4 separate regions of the Homo sapiens genome follow, and all the other regions are linked to region 1. Evidence: promoter capture Hi-C in 16 types of primary human blood cells and fetal thymus (Javierre and others, 2016). All regions are on one chromosome and are shown on one strand. Each heading gives the region's core, a stretch centred on a gene start or on the middle of the fragment in contact. The rest is flanking DNA. Distances are from core to core; before and after follow the strand shown.

Evidence for each region. The method cuts DNA at HindIII sites, captures the fragments that hold promoters and counts their contacts. A CHiCAGO score of 5 or more calls a contact.
Region 2: a contact is called between a fragment that was not itself captured here and the fragment with the promoter of PADI4 in region 1, in 1 of 17 cell types (monocytes). The highest score is 5.6, in monocytes.
Region 3: a fragment that was not itself captured here is called in contact with the fragment with the promoter of PADI4 in region 1 in 4 of 17 cell types (neutrophils, monocytes, megakaryocytes and 1 more); the score reaches 14.8 in neutrophils.
Region 4: a contact is called between a fragment that was not itself captured here and the fragment with the promoter of PADI4 in region 1, in 6 of 17 cell types (neutrophils, monocytes, endothelial precursors and 3 more). The highest score is 16.0, in neutrophils.

The regions. Positions count from the first base shown.
Region 1 is chr1:17,306,384-17,309,452 of GRCh38, reverse strand. PADI4 (peptidyl arginine deiminase 4) reads right to left here and starts at 1,256. Exons shown (of 16, transcript NM_012387.3): 1 at 1,139-1,256. The coding sequence starts at 1,230. The HindIII fragment of the contact is 10,543 bases long and covers 849-3,069 here.
Region 2 is chr1:17,155,103-17,157,802 of GRCh38, reverse strand. No RefSeq gene overlaps it. Among named protein-coding and RNA genes, the nearest start is that of LINC02783, 33 kb to the left of the region's middle. The HindIII fragment of the contact is 795 bases long and covers 1,010-1,804 here.
Region 3 is chr1:17,132,521-17,135,564 of GRCh38, reverse strand. No RefSeq gene overlaps it. Among named protein-coding and RNA genes, the nearest start is that of PADI2, 15 kb to the right of the region's middle. The HindIII fragment of the contact is 4,354 bases long and covers 1-3,044 here.
Region 4 is chr1:17,070,919-17,073,942 of GRCh38, reverse strand. It overlaps PADI2 (peptidyl arginine deiminase 2), which reads left to right. Exons shown (of 16, transcript NM_007365.3): 14 at 2,452-2,537. Among named protein-coding and RNA genes, the nearest start is that of SDHB, 18 kb to the right of the region's middle. The HindIII fragment of the contact is 1,384 bases long and covers 1,038-2,421 here.

The DNA.
Region 1 (3,069 bases), core at 7-2,506:
ATTTCATGGGGCGGGGGTAGATCTGTGCAGGGGGAAGCATATTATAGAGGCAAGAAACAAAGACAGTTATTTAATTGAGACATGCATTATATTATTTTTTACTTTTTAAGGAAAAAAATTTTTACAGCTTGAGTTTATCTGTCTAGTGACCTTGCAGCTGCACAGCTGGAGAAACAGGGTCTTTACAATGCCTGGAAAAAGAGGAGCAATAAGGCTCACTAGCCACAAAAAAACAGGCAGTTAATTTTTAAGGGACTCCAGCTCTTTTTTTTTTTTTTTTCCAGGGAAAATTGTTTTTTTTTTTTTTAACATAGAACTGAGTTTTTGCTTACACGTTTTAAAATTTCTTTTAATTCCTGTTCTACAATAACAACAATGACCCTGCACACTCCCCGAGAGCATTCCTCAACTCTCTTGTTTAACCCAGACCCTGCCACAGAGCATGGCACTCAGCATTTGTTAAATGAGTAAATAAAAACTACCAAGGATGGGCCCACCACTGTGCTAAGTACTCAGCCAACATCTGCACATTTTTTCACATTGAATTCCTATAACCAGCCCATGATGTGAGTATTATCCCCATTTCACAGATGAGGCAACTGAGGCTCAGTTGCCCAAGGCCTCCTTGCTAGCCAGCAGCAGGTCCAGGCTTCCTACCTCAGTCTCTGCCGCCACAGAGCCCCGTTTCGCCATCCCCACCCACGCTATTATGCACCCACTGAGGGAGGCTTAGCTAAGAGATGTGGGGTAACAAACTGTGCTGTGAACCAGGAGGCCCAGGGGCTAACCTTACTTCCAGGGCACACGTGCTGTGTGACCTTGAGCAAGTCACAGACTCTCTGTAAGCTTCTGTTGCCTCGATGAAGACAGGGAGATGGATGGCCTGGTTTGCCCCATAATAATTTATCTGTCGTGTGTTCCTGGGGAATTTGCACTTGTACATGGCAAAGAACCCACAGCCATGAGACTGGCACTTCCCAGGGCTGCTGGGGTCTTCTCTCTCCAGCTACTCCCCTGGCAGTGGCTGCAGAGGCTGGAGCCTAGAGCCTGGGCCAAACACATGCTCCTGTGTCAGTAGAACTGGGTCATCCAGCATCTCCTGACCTGCCTCCAAAACCCCAGAAGGCCCCCCTCTTACCTGCAGATGTCAAGCTGAGTCAAGGTGCCCAGCACACACACGGCATGGGTGGGCTGCTCTGGGGTCACACGGATCAATGTCCCCTGGGCCATCGTCGGGCTAGCTCGTCCCTCTGGCTGTAGGAAGCCCCTGGGCTGGTTCCTTTATATCGCCCAGCAGAGGCCATGAGTCAGCACCTGCGGTCTGTGGCCCAGAGGCTCAACCCCTCCCCACTCAGGTCAGGGGTGTGGGCTCTCAAAATCTCCTCTGCCCTGGGGCTGCCCCTCGGACCTCTAGATGGGTGTCAATGCTGGTACCAGTGGCAGGGTGGCTCTGTCAGTTTCTTGGGAAGGATGGATGGCTCAGAAAGCCTGGGGTGGAGAGTGGGGCTGAGGGGTTGGGTCCTGGTCCTCATGCCCACAGTCCCATCCCTGCCTAGAGGCCCTGAACACCTTGATCTATCCAATCTCACCTATGTCAAACAGGCATATCAGAGAGGAGAAGGTGGGAAAAGCGGGGAGATTTTAGGTAAGCAGTCACAGGCCAGGCTACACGTTCAAAGACCAACCAGGCTTGGGACAAGTCTCTCCACCTGGGCCACCCACATGACAGCTCACATTCTCTATGCCAGGCACGTTTTCCTGCACTTCACATAGAATAGCTCATTACGACAAACCCGTGAACTAGATCATACCATTATCCCCTTATTTCACCCTCACAGCAGCCCTCTGAGGTTGGTGCCATTATTATACCCATTTTACAGAGGAGAAAACAGAGGTGCAGTTCTTCCACAGCTCGAGAGTGGTAGGGCCAGAATTGGAACCAAAGGTGTCCAGTTCCAGAGTGTGAGATTCATTAGCTGCCTGTCTATATGACACGTGCTTTCCAGACTGTATCACAGCTACATCTCGCTACAATACAAGGTGTATATGGGCTTATTATTACAACCCATTTTACAGAAGGAAAATTGAGGCTCAGAGAGTAAAAGTGACTAGCTCTTGCCCAAGGTGCCAGAGCTAGAATGCGGCAGAGCTGGGAAGAGAAGATGAGCTTCCTGGCATGGAAGTTGATGTTCTCTGCATGCTCCAGGATACCTGCCTCTTGCCAGGGCCTCTGGGTGTCAGACCAGACAGTGCAGGTGTGGGCCACGCCTGCCAGGGGGATGCCCATGTGGCCTCAGAGCTGTGGTTGCACCTGGGCCATTGGTGCCAGGCTCTGCCTTTAATGAGGCAACTGGGGGGTGGTGGATGGGTCCCAACAAGGAGCACTCAAAGGGTGCATGCATGGGAGTCTGGCGTGAACATAGAGCGTTTCGTGGGTTGGATATCTTGCGTTTGTTTTTTGTTTGCTTGCTTTGGCTTTGAAGCAAAGAATTTGCCTCATTAATTCAGAGTCAGGCTGTGGGATCAAACAGGCTTTAGTTCAAATCCTGCCTCATCTCAACATCCCTATGGAGTGCGTCCTATCAGGATGCCCATGTGTAGATGAGACCACAAAGACTTAGAGAGATTGAGTGAGACCCCCAAGGTCTCATAAGCCCTACAGTGGGGATCTGGATTCAGACCACCTTCTCTGGGCTCAAAATTTATCTTCTGTACCAGCAGATGATGATGTGGCCAGGTCCGACGTTCTGACGCATCTACATGACTGCCTGCACACAGTGTTAATAAACCCAATTTCTCTGGCTGACCGCATGATTAGAACTAGTTTGAGCTTCTACTGGGAAGTGGCAGGAGGGAGCTGTCCATTGTTAGAGTTGGGAGGGCCCTTAGAGAACACCCAATCCAGTCCTCGTTTTGCAGAAGGGGAGACTGAAGCACAGAAAGGGAGTGGGACCTGCCCACGGTCACACAGCAAATCAGAGGGAGGGCTGGCCTCTACCCCAAGTCTTAGGTCTCTTGAGGTTGTTTTCTTCTGTTCCTTCTTTTCTTTCTTATTTTCTTCAGCAGTTT
Region 2 (2,700 bases), core at 158-2,657, 150 kb after region 1:
GAAATTGACCTACTCTCAGCTTCAGAGGGAGGCACCAATTGATTTAAGCCAATCAGCATATCCCATGCTTCTGGCCACAGCTATTGATTGGAAAATGGACAGATGACCCAAGGCAGGCCAATTGGAGCCAACAAGATCCCATGTATGAACTTTTTTAAGTCACCAGAGAGGTACATTTTTCTGTTCTACCACATATGAATCTAAAAACATAGAGTTCCAGAAACTTCTTGCAGCCACCTTTGGAACACAAAAGGAGAGTATGACTGAGAATAGACCTAATACTGAGGCTATGGAAATGAGCATATATGAGCTGCTGGATCATGCTGTACCTGAAGGCCAACCTACCCATGACTTCAGTTCCATGGGCCAATAAATTCCCATTTTTAGTTGAACTGGGTTTTCTACAACTTGTAGCTGCTGAAAAGTATCTGATACAGCCCAAATCTTGTATTGAATTGTAATCCCCAGTATCAGAGATGGGACCTGGTGGGAGGTGGTTGGATCATGGGGGAGGTTTTCTCATGAATAGTTTAACATCATCTCCCTGTACTGTCCTCACAATAGTGACTTCTCGCAAGAGCTGGCTGGTTTTTTTGTTTTTGTTTGTTTTTGTTTTTTTGAGGTGGAATCTTGCTCTGTCACCTGGCTGGAGTGCAGTGGTGCAATCTCAGCTCACTGCAACCTCTGCCTCCTGGGTTCAAGTGATTCTCCTGCCTCAGCTTCCCGAGTAGCTGGAACTACAGACATGTGCCAGCACACCCAGCTAATTTTTGTATTTTTGGTAGAGACGGGGTTTCACTATGTTAGCCAGGATGACCTCGATCTCTTGACCTCGTGATCCACCCACCTCAGCCTCCCAAAGTGCTGGGATTACAGGCGTGAGCCACCATGCCCAGCCAAGAGCTGGTTGTTTAAATGTGTGGGACACCTAACTCTCTCTCCCTCTTGCTCCCACTCTTGCCACATGATGCACCTGCTCCCCCTTTGCCTTCTGCCATGATTGAAAGCTTCCTGGGGCCTCCCCAGAAGCAGACGCCACTATGCTTCCTATAAAGACTGCAGAACTCTAAGCCAATTGAACCTCTTTTCTTTATAAATTACCCAGTCTTAGGTATTTCTTTATAGCAATGCAAGAATGGCCTAATTCAGTATCCTGACAAATATAAACAGTTTCAACAATGTACCCATAAGAAATTCAGTTGACTGTTTTTATAAAGGTCTCATAACCCTACTGTTACCAGTGGAGGGTGTCTAGGATCTTGGTGTTTTGAATGAAGAACTGGACAAAATGCACAAACAAAGCAAGGAAAGAATAAAGCAACGAAAGTACAGATTTATTGAAAATGAAAGTACACTCCAGTGTGGAAGCAGCCTGAGCAGGGGAAAGCAACCAATCAGAGGTTAAAGTGAAGTTACAAAGTTGCACTTCTATGCACACGAAGACTTGGCCAGCAATCAGTCTGATTGGTTGCAGACAACAACCAATCAGAGGTTGAAGTGAAGTTACAAAAATTACACTCCTATGCAAACATATGATTGGTTGAAGAAAGCAACCAATCAGAGATACTTTCAATTTGCCATTTGCCAGGCAGAAAAGGTGTGGGTTTGCAAAGGGAGTAGCCTCTGGTCTTTTTGTTACTTAGGCGTGGAAAGTTGGGGTTTTCCTTTTGATTTAGTTCTAGGAAGTTAGTGTGAATTGGCCTTAGGTTCCCTGCCTCCAGACCCTATTCTCCTGCCTCACTACTTGTGAGGCGGGAAATTAAAGAAAGAAAGAAAAATAAAATTTAAAAAGGAGAAATAAGCTTTCCTGTATTAGGCTGACTTGCCCCAGAGGCAGCAACAGGCACAGCCCAGACCTAGGAAAAGTCTTGATACTATCTAAGAAGCCAGGACACAAAGGAATGTGCCCTGGAGATTTTCCCAGCACTCCCTCAACATAGGGAGGAGAAAAACAGATTTTCCTTTATCTTACGGTATGAGTTTATAGATTCCTGTTCTCTGTAACTAGTAACTTGAAGTATTCTCTTTTATCTAAGCAGTGGAGTGAAGGTCATAAACCATCTGAGCAGGCCTGAGATACAGCCACCTGGCTGCCATAGTGAAGGTTATGGGATAAGTCTGTGCTAGGCACTAGAGGAAATCTAGATAACAGACATCTGGGCTGCATAGCAATGGTCATGTGTAATCCTGAGTTATGAACCTGTCACAACTTGATTAACTGTCTTTGTTCTGCCTCTGTGTCCTTGCCTTTGTGCCGCTGTAAGCCTGCTTCTAGCTAGCCCACCCCCTTTTTGAAGTGTGTATAGAAGTCAAGTGCTGTCTTTGTTCTGGGCCCAGTTTTTGGATGTTAAGTCTGCTGGGTCTGAGTGCACTCAATAAAGATCCTCCTGTATACACCCCAAGGTCTCTCTGGTCCTCCTGATTCCCACAACACTTGTTATTATAGTGGATTGTAGAAGAGCAGGAAGTGGGGGTTACTCATCCTCCAGCTCCATCCATACTTCCACCTCTCTCCATAGTTTCTGCTAGCTGATCACCTCAAGGTTATCTGCCCAAATGCAAATCTGCAGTGAAGCCCCAGAGTCTCCTGGCTAAGCATACAGGTAGGGCTAAAGAACCCACAGTGGAGGACACTGGCCAAGACCAGCCAGTTTTCTTCCAACTGAAAGGAGCCACAGCTAAACAAAAGATAGGGAAACA
Region 3 (3,044 bases), core at 27-2,526, 170 kb after region 1:
GGTTACTGATCGCTGGGTGCTCTCATGTGTATACACAATGCACTTATTAATGAACTTCGGTTTGTTTTTCTCTTGTTCATCTGTCTTTTTCGAGTCTCCCTTATGGGGCCCCAGCCAGAAAGCCTAAGGTGGGTGGAGGAAAAGGATCATTTCCTCGCTCATGCCATAGGGGAGGCAAGCTCTCCTAGAGGGGTGCTAGCCACCCCAAAATATGTCTCTTCGGCACATAGACTATTTTGAGCTAAAGGCCATTGAGAACCAGCACAAGGTGCTGGAGAAAGGCCACAAAGAGTATGTCAGGGAGGCCACCAGGAGCTCATACTTCCTGGAGCTCAACAGGCTTGAGGCAGGACATGCTGTGTGTGGGAATTGTGTGGGGGTGGGCGGGGGGTTGGGAAGGATGGAGGAAGAGATTGTGTGTGCATGGAGGAGGTGCATGGGTGTGTGAGTGTGTGCACAGGTGTTCTGTGAGTAGGTGTAGGGGGCTGTGTGTGTGTATGTGCATGTGGGTGGGGCTGCACAGGTGTGTGGCTGTGCAAAGAGATGTTCTATGAGTAGGTGTAGGAGTGTGTGTGTGCGTGTGCATCTGTGTGTGCATGTGGGTGCATGGCGTGTGGGTGAGTGCACAGGTGTGTGGGTAGATAGGAGTGTGTGTGTGCGCGTGCGCATGCGGGGGTGCTCAGGTGTATGGGTGTGTGTGTGCACAGGTGTGTGGGTAGGTAGGGATGTGTGTATGTGTGAGAGTGTGTGTACATGTGGGGGGTACAGAGGTGTGTAAGTGTGTGTGCACAGGTGTTGTGTGGGTAGGTAGGGGTGTGTGCATATGTGTGTGTGCATGCGGGGGTGCACAGGTGTGTGGGTAGGTAGGGATGTGTGTGTGTGCATGTGGGGGTGCACAGGTGTGTGGGCGTGTGTGCACAGGTGTTGTGTAGGTAGCCCCCAAGGGGTGTGTGTGTGTGTGTGTGCATGCATACATGTGTGTCTGGGCCGGGTGAGAGTGTCGGCACATCTGTGCACGCAGTCAGCTCCATCAAGGCTGAGGTTGAGGCTCTGACCCCTCACAGGACCTCTGGGAATCCAGGCCTTGCTGCCAGTCCTCAGCTGCAGGCCAGGCATCCACCGCAAGCCCTGGCTGGGGAGCAAGGTGAGAAAAAAGAGAAATTTTGTATCTGAGGAATGTGAGCCCCTTTAAACGATCAGGCCCAGAGAGGCACTGAAATGTGACAGCAGCCATGTCTCTCTCCTGCCTTGAGCTAAATAATGACTTCTTGAAGCCACTTGCTATGTGGACTGACTGACACCAGGCAGCCATAAAATGCCATCTGGACACCATACTTCATACCCTATCATTCAACAATGCACAGCCAATCACAGCTCAATGTCATCTCTGCAACCCAGTGAGAATGCCTGTCAAACAACTGTATCTGCTTCAAAAACCTGCTCGTAATGAAGGCTGGACGGAGCACTCCCCAAGGCATCTTAGAAGTGTGTCCTGGGTGGCCGGGTGCAGTGGCTCACACCTGTAATCCCAGCACTTTGGGAGGCTGAGGCGGGTGTATCGCGAGGTCAGGAGATCGAGACCATCCTGGCTAACACGGTGAAACCCCGTCTCTACTAAAAATACAAAAAAAAATTAGCCGGGCATGGTCGTGGGTGCCTATAGTCCCAGCTACTCGGGAGGCTGAGGCAGGAGAATGGCATGAACCCAGGAGGCAGAGCTTGCAGTGAGCGGAGATCGTGCCACTGCACTCCAGCCTGGGTGACAGAGCAAGACTTCATCTAAAAAAAAAAAAAAAAAGAAGTGTGTCCTGGGCTGCTGTCCTCAACCTTGGCCCAAATAAACTCTCTATATTAATTTTGCCTCAGTTTCTTTATTTCAGTCAACAAAAGGTGACTCCATGCAGCTCAGCCCCACAGGAGACCCCGGGGCCCCTGCTTGGAGCCCGTGAGAGCCTGTGAGGGCAGGAGGTCGCCCTCCTGATGCCAAGGGAGGACACATTTCTGCAGCCCACCTGTGTGACCTTTGTGTCCTCTCTTGGACCTCCAGAAGCCATGCCCTGAGTGGGCACTGGGATTCCACAGGACTCAGGGACGCACTCCACTTGGCTGTGGGGCCATCTCAACCTCAGGACGGTGGGGCAGACAGAGTGTCAGGGCTCAGAGGCACCGCAGAGCCTCCCGGGCCAGGGTCTGCACTGGTCCCAACCACACACAGTAAGACACTGGAAAAACCAACTCAACAAATGTGTCCAGGTTGTACCTCTATGGGGTAAAACCCAGTCAGAGCCCAGGCAGCCTCAAGAAGAAAATTCAGTGTTGAACTCAGTAAAGACTCACTCTGATGTCTTCATAGATCGCCAAGGACAACCCCCCCAAAAAGGGAGGACCAGTCTGAGCCAGAAATGCCCCAGGGGGACACATGCCCTCCAGAGGCAGCTGGCTTCTCAGTCACATCCCTGACCTTGGGAAGAGCCTAAACCTGCCTCCCTGTAGCACTCCCTCTGCACCAGCTGCTAAACAGGGACCTCTCTCAGGTTCTGAAATCATTCATTCATTCACAGAGTACCTACCATGAGCTGGGTCCTTCACAGGGCACCAAGAACATAGCAATGAACATGACAGAGACAGACTGAACCCTCGTGGGCTTATGGGGTATTTGGGGAGAATGTGGAACAGGCAATCATTGACATAAGTAAGGTTGCCAGATAAACAACAGAGAGCTCAGTCAAATGTGCATCTTGAAGAAACGATGAATGTCCCATGCAATATTTTGAACCTGGAAAAATTATTTGGTGTTTACCTGAAATTCAGATGTAACTGGGTGCCTCATGTTTTTCTTTGCCTACATAAGATATTTTCAGCTGGTGACATAGTCTGAGGAAAATAATCGAGGCTAGAGAGTGAAGGAGTGGCCAGAGAAGCCAAAACCTGAATGGAAAAGAGGCCCCCACCCCGGAGTCCACCTCCACTCCCCCAGCTCATTATCAGTAAAGAGTGTGGAACTCACTCATTACCACGAGGAGGGCACCAAGCCCTTCTTTTCT
Region 4 (3,024 bases), core at 480-2,979, 240 kb after region 1:
AGTCCAGAAGTGAGACATTATCTTCTACGTTTAGACATTCACATAATTGGGACAGACATAGTCGGGATGAGGTTTGCATTTGAATTAATCACGGAAAGAGGGAAAGATGATCAGGTGGAGACAACCAGCCAGGTTAGAGACACCATGCCAATTCCTCATACTTCTTTTTTTTCTTTTTCAACTTCTATTTTAGATTTAGGGGGTACATGTGCAGGTTTGTTACCTGGGTGTATTGTGTGATTTGGGGTATGAATGATCCCATCACGCAGGTACTGAGCATAGTAGACAACAGTTAGTCATTCAACTCTTTCCCTCCTCTCTCCCTCCCCACTCTAATAGTCCCCAGTGTTTGCCATTGCCATCCTTATGTCCAACATGTTTTTTATTGTGATAAAATATACCTAATCTAACACATTTGTTATTTTAACCACTTGTAAGGACACAGTTCCGGGACATTAAATACATCTACAATGCTGACTAACCATCAGCACTCTCTATATCCGTTATACTTTTTTTTTTTTTTTTTGAGACACAGTCTCACTCTGTCGTCCAGGCTGGAGTGCAGTGGTGCCATCTCGGCTCACTGCAAGCTCCGCCTCCCAGGTTCAAGCCATTCTCCTGCCTCAGCCTCCCCAGTAGCTGGGATTACAGGCGCCCGCCACCACGCCCGGCTAATTTTTTGTATTTTTAGTAGAGGTGGGGTTTCACCATGTTAGCCGGGATGGTCTCAATCTCCTGACCTCATGAACCACCCGCCTCGGCCTCCCAAAGTGCTGGGATTACAGGCGTGAGCCACCATGCTCGGCCTATTTTTTTCTTAAATTACTTTTGTCACTTTTCAGGTTGGTATCCATAATATATCTCATGCCTGAAAGCCTGAGTTCCCGCAGCTGGTTGATACTTACATGACTGCCCCTCAGATCCAAAGACAGTGTTCCTGACTGTCACTGGTGTCTAGGACAGACAAGACCAATTTAACACCACCACCCTTTTTAAATTCCCCACTGATGGGAAGTTTGTTCTTGGATTGGCAAGCTTGAGTCCTGACTTCCTGGAGGCTTCCTCTCTAATATTAAACATACCCTCAAAAACTACCCATAGGATATAGGGACCATTATTTTTGTACAAATAGGGGCAAGCAGTGCCCCAGATTTCTCTTTGTATTTTAGAAAGAGAGATAGAGAGAAAATAGATAGAATACAGTTTGGGGACAGGAAGAAAACTGGACTTTGATGGACAGAAGGCATGGTCAGGCATCGTCATTGTCAGTTCAGGAGTGAAACATTATCTCCTGGACTTAGACATTCATGTAATTGGGACAGACAGAGAGAGGATGCGCGGATGTGCAGTCAGCAGAGAGTAGAAGCACATAGGAGACCTGGGGAGGAAGGTGAACCAGGCAATGCCAAAGAGCCAAGATCTCCGCTGGACCAGAGCCCACAATGTTTGGGGAAAACACATCCCTTTAAAAGATGATAAAAACTACAGACTTGCCCTCCAGAAAAATGCTTATATCAATCTATCTCCTGAACTTGGATCAGTTTTAGAAAATCACAGATCCCTAAAGTTTTCTGTTTCTACCTGGACCCTCCCTTCTGAGTCCCTAAGCCTCAAAGATTACATCCGGCTTGTAGCTGGGCATCTTTACTGCTGTCCAGTTATAAACCTGGGAAGTGCAATGGACCAGCAGTCTCTTCCCAGATGAGGCCAAAATAAATAAACAAATAATAGGTTAAGAGCATAGGCTCTGGAATCAGACTGCCTGATCTGCACACCAACTCTGCCGCTTGCTAGATGTAAGTCCTGAGACAAGTCACATAACTTCTCTGTGCCTCAGTTTCCTCATTTTTCAGGGTAGTGACTACCCCATAGAAATGTGGGGAGGATCCATGAGTTAATTCAATGTAAAGCGTTTAGAAGAGCGTCGGCCACATAGTAGGTGCTCATTGAGCATTAGGCATTACTAATCAAGCTGGAAGCCACATAAGCCATCGTGTGGTACAGGAGGAAAACGCAGGCCACTCCAGAGCAGCAGCCAAGATGAGGCAGCTCTGGAAAACAGGAAGGGTGTCCCCTTTGGCCATGCTGCTTCTGCCACATTCATGCTGGTCAGCTGCTCATCCTTAGGAGTAGGCTGTAGGTGGGAGAACCAGGGGGCTACTTGTAGCACCCCTGATCCCACTGGCCAAAGCAAGAGCAAGGCAGCTGCCACCACTGTCCTGGCTCAGATGTCATGGTCAACTCTGGAGAAAAGAGTGTGTGCTGCCCTCCCCAGACAGAGGGGGGCCTGATTTTGCCTGGGAGTGCCCTCCTGTGATCCAGCCTCTCCCCAGTCCCATCTCCCCAGTCCCAGTCCAGCAGTTAGCCCAGGCCTGGAGGATCTTGGCAAAAGGGGAACACTCAGCCTGGGTATCTAAAGCTTGACCATCCCCTGTCCTTTGAACCCCACAGGCTTGGGTGGGATGAGCAGCAAGCGAATCACCATCAACAAGATTCTGTCCAACGAGAGCCTTGTGCAGGAGAACCTGTACTTCCAGGTGAGGGCAGGGCAGGGGTGCAGGGCCAGAGGGCCCCTGGGAGGGATGAGGCTCAGGCCCTTACATCCTTGGGGCTTCCGTAGAGAATGGCCAAGGGCTCAGGAGCTCCTGACCCCGAGCACAGCAGCACAGGGAAGAGCCTCCACCAGCATCCAGCCAGCCTCCTTGCTTTGCTCCTGGGCTAAAGTCCCAGGGTTAAAGAAGTGCCAAATTGTGCCGCCCCCTCACTTGGGGAGGTAGGACCATGGGCAACTCACTAAGGCTGTCTTTGGGTCTCTCATCTCTAAAAAGGGGATAATGGGGGCCAGACACAGTGTCTCATGCCTGTAATCTCAGAACTTTGGGAAGCCAAGGCGGGAGGATTGCTTCAGGCCAGGGGCTTGAGACCAGCCTGGGCAACATAGTGAGACACTTGTCTCTACAAAAAAAATAAATAAAAACTTTGGCCGGGCCTGGTGGCTCATGCCTGTAATCCCAACTCTTTGGG